Linked DNA regions of Homo sapiens: region 1 is linked to region 2. The links are contacts of gene promoters, found by promoter capture Hi-C in blood cells and fetal thymus (Javierre and others, 2016). All regions are on one chromosome and are shown on one strand. Each heading gives the region's core, a stretch centred on a gene start or on the middle of the fragment in contact. The rest is flanking DNA. Distances are from core to core; before and after follow the strand shown.

Evidence for each region. The method cuts DNA at HindIII sites, captures the fragments that hold promoters and counts their contacts. A CHiCAGO score of 5 or more calls a contact.
Region 1: a fragment that was not itself captured here is called in contact with the fragment with the promoter of RS1 in region 2 in 1 of 17 cell types (naive B cells); the score reaches 5.3 in naive B cells.

The regions. Positions count from the first base shown.
Region 1 is chrX:17,738,354-17,741,200 of GRCh38, forward strand. All of the region lies in intron 1 of SCML1 (Scm polycomb group protein like 1), which reads left to right. Among named protein-coding and RNA genes, the nearest start is that of SCML1, 2.3 kb to the left of the region's middle. The HindIII fragment of the contact is 3,729 bases long and covers 1-2,847 here.
Region 2 is chrX:18,670,356-18,673,386 of GRCh38, forward strand. It overlaps RS1 (retinoschisin 1), which reads right to left and starts at 1,753. Exons shown (of 6, transcript NM_000330.4): 1 at 1,662-1,753. The coding sequence starts at 1,713. The HindIII fragment of the contact is 14,405 bases long and covers 1-3,031 here.

The sequences.
Region 1 (2,847 bases), core at 150-2,649, 930 kb before region 2:
CTCCCCGGCTCTCCCCGAGTGCGGCAAACTGGCTTCAGGTTGACTAAAAGATAGCGATTTTCCAAGCAGCTTTGCCGCGCGGTGTTTTCTAAAGCGGGGCGTGGGCTGGGTGCCCTTTTGGGCCTCACTTGTCCGGCCTGCGGCAAGTGCTGGGCGATGGGATGCGGTTCTGGCGGCAAAGGAAGGGCTGCCTTTGAGAGTCCCGCAGGAAGGTTTAGAAAGTGATTGTTCTTAAAACAAACAGAGCGTTTTGCTGTGTGTTCCTCAAAGTGGTCCCGGTGGGAGTGGCGCCTCATTGTGAGCTGTGCCTTATCTGATGAATTAATGGCAGGTGAAAGCCTTGCGCCTCCGGAGCGAATATTTACGACTTTTGAAAATGTCTTTAATGTCTAAAAAAAGTCTTTTAGAAAATCAGACGGCCTCTTGTTCTTATGTTATCAAGAGTTTAGATTTCTGTGGTAAATATAAGTGAGTTTCATTTTAAGTAAACTCATTTTACGAGATTTGAGATTTGAAAGTGAAATTAATTAATTTTGCACAATCTAGCCTTGGGCTCTGAGAAAATGTTGTAAAGCTGTAATTAATCTTGTGGGACGAAGTGAAAAGGAACTAAAGTGTATGGTGTAATGAATAGTTTAAATTTCTGTGGTAAATACAAGTGAGTTTCATTTTAAGTAAACTCATTTTTATGGGATTTGAGATTTAAAAGTGAAATTAATTAATTTCGCACAATCTAGTCATGGTTGGGCTCAGAAAATGTTGTAAAGTTGTGATTTATCTTATGGAAAGAAGTGAAAAGGAATTAAGGTATATGGTGTAATTAAGAGTTTAAATTTCTGTGGTAAATGCAAGTGAGTTTCATTTTAAGTAAACTCATTTTTACGGGATTTGAGATTTAAAAGTGAAATTAATTCATTTTGCACAGTGTAGTCATGGTTGGGCTCTGAGAAAATGTTGTAAAGCTGAAATTATTTATCTTGTGGGAAGAAGTGAGAAGAAACTAAAATGTGTGGTATTATCAAGAGTTTAGATTTCCGGGGTAAATATAAATGAGTTTCCTTTAAACTCATTTTTGTGGAATTTGAGGTTTAAAAGTGAAATTAATTTTGTAGAATCTAGTCATGGTTGGGCTCTGAGAAAATGTTGTAAAGCTGTAATTTATCTTGTGGGAAAAAGTGAAAAGGAACTTAAATTTATGGTGTTATCAAGAATTGGCCAGGCGCGGTGGCTCACACCTGTAATCCCAGCACTTTGGGAGGCCGAGGTGGGCAGATCACTTGAGGTCAGAAGTTCGGGACCAGCCTGGCCAACATGGTGAAACCCAGTCTTTACTAAAAGTACAAAAATTAACTGGGCATGGTGGTGCAAGCCTGTTACGCTAACTACTCGGGAGGCTGAGGGAGGAGAATTGCTTTAACCCGGGAGGCAGAGGTTGCAGTAAGCCGAGATCATGCCACTGCACTCCAGCCTGGGTGACAGAGTAAGACTCTGTCTCAAAAAAAAAAAAAAAAAAAAAAGAAATTTAGATTTCTGTGGTAAATATAAATGAGTTTCATTTTAAGTAAACTCATTTTGTGGGATTTGAGATTTAAAAATGAAATTAATTTTGCACATTCTAGTCATGGTTGGGCTCTAAGGCAATGTTGTAAAGCTGTAATTGTTTGCCTTATGGGAAGAAGTGAAAAGGAATTAAAATTTATGGTGTGTCTACTATGAACCAGGCATGATGCTGAGAGTTTAACTGTGTAATTTTTGGCCTAAATAGCCCTGTGAAGTAGATATTATTCCAACTTTACAGGTTAGAAAATTTGAGGCACAGAGAGGTGAAATATTTGCCTAAAGTGAAACGGCAAATTTGGCAATTTGGACTTGGATTCAAGTGTTTATAACTAAAGCCCAGCTCCTTGCATCATACCCTGGTACCTAAAAGACATAAAAACTCACTTCAGGTGCAATGTGAATGAAAATGACGTTATGACCCAGGCTTGTTGTCTATGTGCTCCTTGAGAAATAGTTCTGTTGGATAGATGCGGTCAATACTCAAAAGCCCTTGCTATCTTTGCCATGCATTACTCTAAGCACTTGACATGTATTAATTTAATCCTCACGATTCCGTGAGGTATGTGCTATTATCATTCCCATTTTACAGACAAAAAAAAAAAAGGATTTAAGTAAGTTGTTCAACTTACTTACACAGCTAGTATGTGGGGGAGGTGGGACCCAAACCCAGGTATTCTGACCACAAGCCTAAGGTCTTAATGCTGTTTGATGCTGCCTCTCATGTAACCAGATATGTGTGACAGTTGCCGTAGAAGTATTAAAGTGTGAGTGTTATTGTAGTTCAGGGAAAGCCGTGTCACATCCACATGGGATGATCATTGGCATGGTGCCCTTGCTTTTTGGAGGTGAAACTTGAAGTAAGCCTTGAAGTTGAATAGATTCTCCTAGGCGGAGACACAACAGGGTATTATGGACGGAGGGCATAACAGGAGCGAGAAGCTCAAAGAGTGAAAGATTGGTGTTGATTTGTATATGTACCAGAGATGTAAACATGTTGGGAGTCCAGTGGTGGACTCACTGCACAGTGCTCCTGTGTCTAACTACAGCCAAATTTTGACAACATTGTTATTAATCCAAATAGGGAGTTCTCTGTTCTCTGGATGTAAGAGCTTGTAACCATTGTCTGCAAACTTGCCTGAAACAGGCTACACAGTAAATATTTTAGGCTTAGAACTGCTGTCCCCAGTCTTTTTGGCACCAGGAACCGGTTTTGGTTTTGTGGAAGACAATTTTTCCACAGATGCAGGGACGGGGGAGTGCTAGCGGGGTATAGTTTCCTAATGAAAC
Region 2 (3,031 bases), core at 503-3,002:
TAGCTGGGATTAGAGGCACCTGCCATCATGCCCAGATACTTTTTGTATTTTTGTAGAGACGGGGTTTCACCAGGTTGGGCAGGCTGGTCTCAAACTCCTGACCTCAGGTGATAGACCCGCCTCAGCCTCCCAAAGTGCTGGGATTACAGTCATGAGCCACCGCGCCCCGCCGTCATACACAATGTTTGCCCCCTAGCAGATAGTCAGGGATGAGCTCTTAAAAGAAGGGACCAAGGAATGAATGAATGAATCTCCATGCCAATCACAAAGAAGAGAAATCCGAGAGTGAGCCCTGGGAGTGTCTGACAACCAGGAGTATTTAGATCTAAGCCTTGAAAGAGTCTGCTTAGATTTTCTTGCTGAGGAAAGAGGAGGGGGCAAGGAGTAAAAGGAAAAACAACAAAACCCCAAAGCATCTTAAAGTAGTCAGAGTTACTGGGACAAGTTGCAGACTATTAATTGCAAGGGGAAAAAATCCTAACAGACAACTGGTTTACATGATCCCTACTTAGAAATATACCTTGGGGTTTGCAGAATGACCTTGGAATTATATTGTCACCAGTCTTTCCAAATACTGAGAAATGTGACTAAGTAACAAAAGTCATCAGCCTGGGAAACATGGTGAAAACCCCTCTCTACAAGAAATACAATAAATTAGCCGGATGTGGTGGTGCGTGCCTGTAGTCCCAGCTACTAGGGAGGCTGAGGCAGGAGGATGGCTTGAGCCTGGGAGGTTGAGGCTACAGTGAGCCGTGAAACCAAGAATTCTGATTCTACTTGTGTGAGTTTCGCTGTGTCTGTCTACCAGGTCATTTGCAGAGCACAGAGACCTCCTTCTCCCTGCTTTTTAATTTATTTTCTATAACACACAAATACACGATGTCCACAAAGAAGACAGGCAACCAATTTCTAACATCTGGATGAACCTGAGGAGAAATTCTGAGCAGATGGGTACTTGAGAATTGAGAGAGGCATGAAAGAATATTATTTCAAAGATTGAGAGGGAATTGGAACTGGATGACATTTTACAGATTTGCCCTTATTTTTTCCTAATTGAAGCATATCACTTCTGCTAGGGTCATATTTAGAAATTTTAAAATGAGTGAGTGTACTGAGTCTCCGAGGTTTCCTGACTCTCAGTTGGATTATGTTTTTTATTAGATTCCAGTGGTACTGGGTATGTTACGTTAATCCATATTTAAACTAGGTTGACCTTACACCCCAATTTGCCCTGGATGGTCCTGGGTTACACCTGTCGTCCCAACAGAATTATTAATAGCATCGTCCTCCACCGTCAATAGCATTCCGGTTTGGAATATTAAATTCTACAATCACTCCCACTTTGACTCCTAAAAGTTTTCCAGAATATGCCATACTTTCTCATTAATTGTTGCAACTTATGGCTATTTTATAGATTTCTGAGACCCATCCTGTTTTCTGTTGGATTTTAAGCATCCTTTGAACTTTAGAAGGCTCCTCACAGAACTGGAAAGCCATCCACACAAAGACAACTGTTGTTCATTAATAACACATGTTAGTTAATTAACGTGTTGCTAATTAATAATATTTATATTATTCAGGCTATATTCCTATTTATCAACGATATTAATTAAATTATGTATTAAGTATGCAATGAATGTCAATGGTTGAATAGCACATACCTTCATAGCCAAAGAGAAGTAATAACAAAAAGCCTTCTATCTTGCGTGACATCTTCCCCTCGTCCTCGGCCAAAGCTCTACCTTACTGAACTGGAGAGCTGGCCCAGGAGCAGGGGATTAAGTTGAGCCCTGGCCTCATTAAGCATCTTAATCCATTTAGTTCTTAGGTCTTTGGCTGAGCCCCATCAAGTTAACCCACAGAGTTACCTGCCTCAACAAGGAAGTCTCATGGAAGATACTAGCATCAACTGAGATTCAGTTCGCGAGGAAGATACTTTTCGTTCTTTTTTTTTTTTTTTTTTTTTTTTTTGAGATGGAGTTTCGCTCTTGTCACCCAGGCTGGAGTGCAATGGCGCCATCTCGGCTCACTGCAACCTCTGCCTCCCGGGTTCAATCTAGTCTCCTGCCTCAGCCTTCCGAGTAGCTGGGATTATAGGCTCACGCCACCACGCCCAGCTAATTTTTGTATTTTTAGTAGAGATGGGGTTTCGTCATGTCAGTCAGGCTGGTCTCGGACTCCTGACCTCAGGTGATCCACCCACCTCGGCCTCCCAAAGTGCTGGGATTACAGGCGTCAGCCACTGCGCCCGGCCCATACTGTTCATTCTATCTTAATGTAAGGGAAGCAATGGAGGGAGAGAACTACAACCAGAAGTCTCAGGTTTTCGTCCTTTCTTCGCCATCATTTTTTAGGGGGTGACCTTGAACAATTTCCTGCCACATAAGCACTAACATTCTCGAATTGTATGAAAATGTCATGGATTCCCCTCTTTGAAAGCAACTAGGCATCATGTGCACACCTATTCACTCAGGAAAATGCTAAATTTGGTGGTGGTGGGAGGACAGTTAACACAAAGCTGTGCATTGCTGTGTTACTTTTAACAACAACAAATTGGAAACAATCTAAATGGCCAAGGTTAGGGGGCTGGTTAAGTAAATCAAGAGATGAGTGCAGCCTGGTAGGTTTAAGAGCACAGACTGCCAACCCAGACTGGGTGCCAAATCGCAGCACTAGCACTTGTTACATTGTGACCTCAGGGCAAGTTATTAATATCTCTGCGCCTAAACTTTCTCATCTGTAAGATGATGATAATAATGCCTACTTTCGAGAGTTATTTTGAGGCTTACAAGAGATCATATGTATAAAATACTTAGCACAGTGCTAGACATAATTAGCTATTATTTTTACATCACCATTCAGAATAAAGTTGATGGGAGGAAAAGGGGAGTTGTTTAATAGGTATAGAGTTGAGTTTTGCAAGATGAAAAAGTTCCCGAGATCTGTTTCACAACAATGTGAATATACTTAACACTACTGAACTGTACACTTAAAAATGATTATGGTGGGCTGGAGGTGGTGGCTCACACCT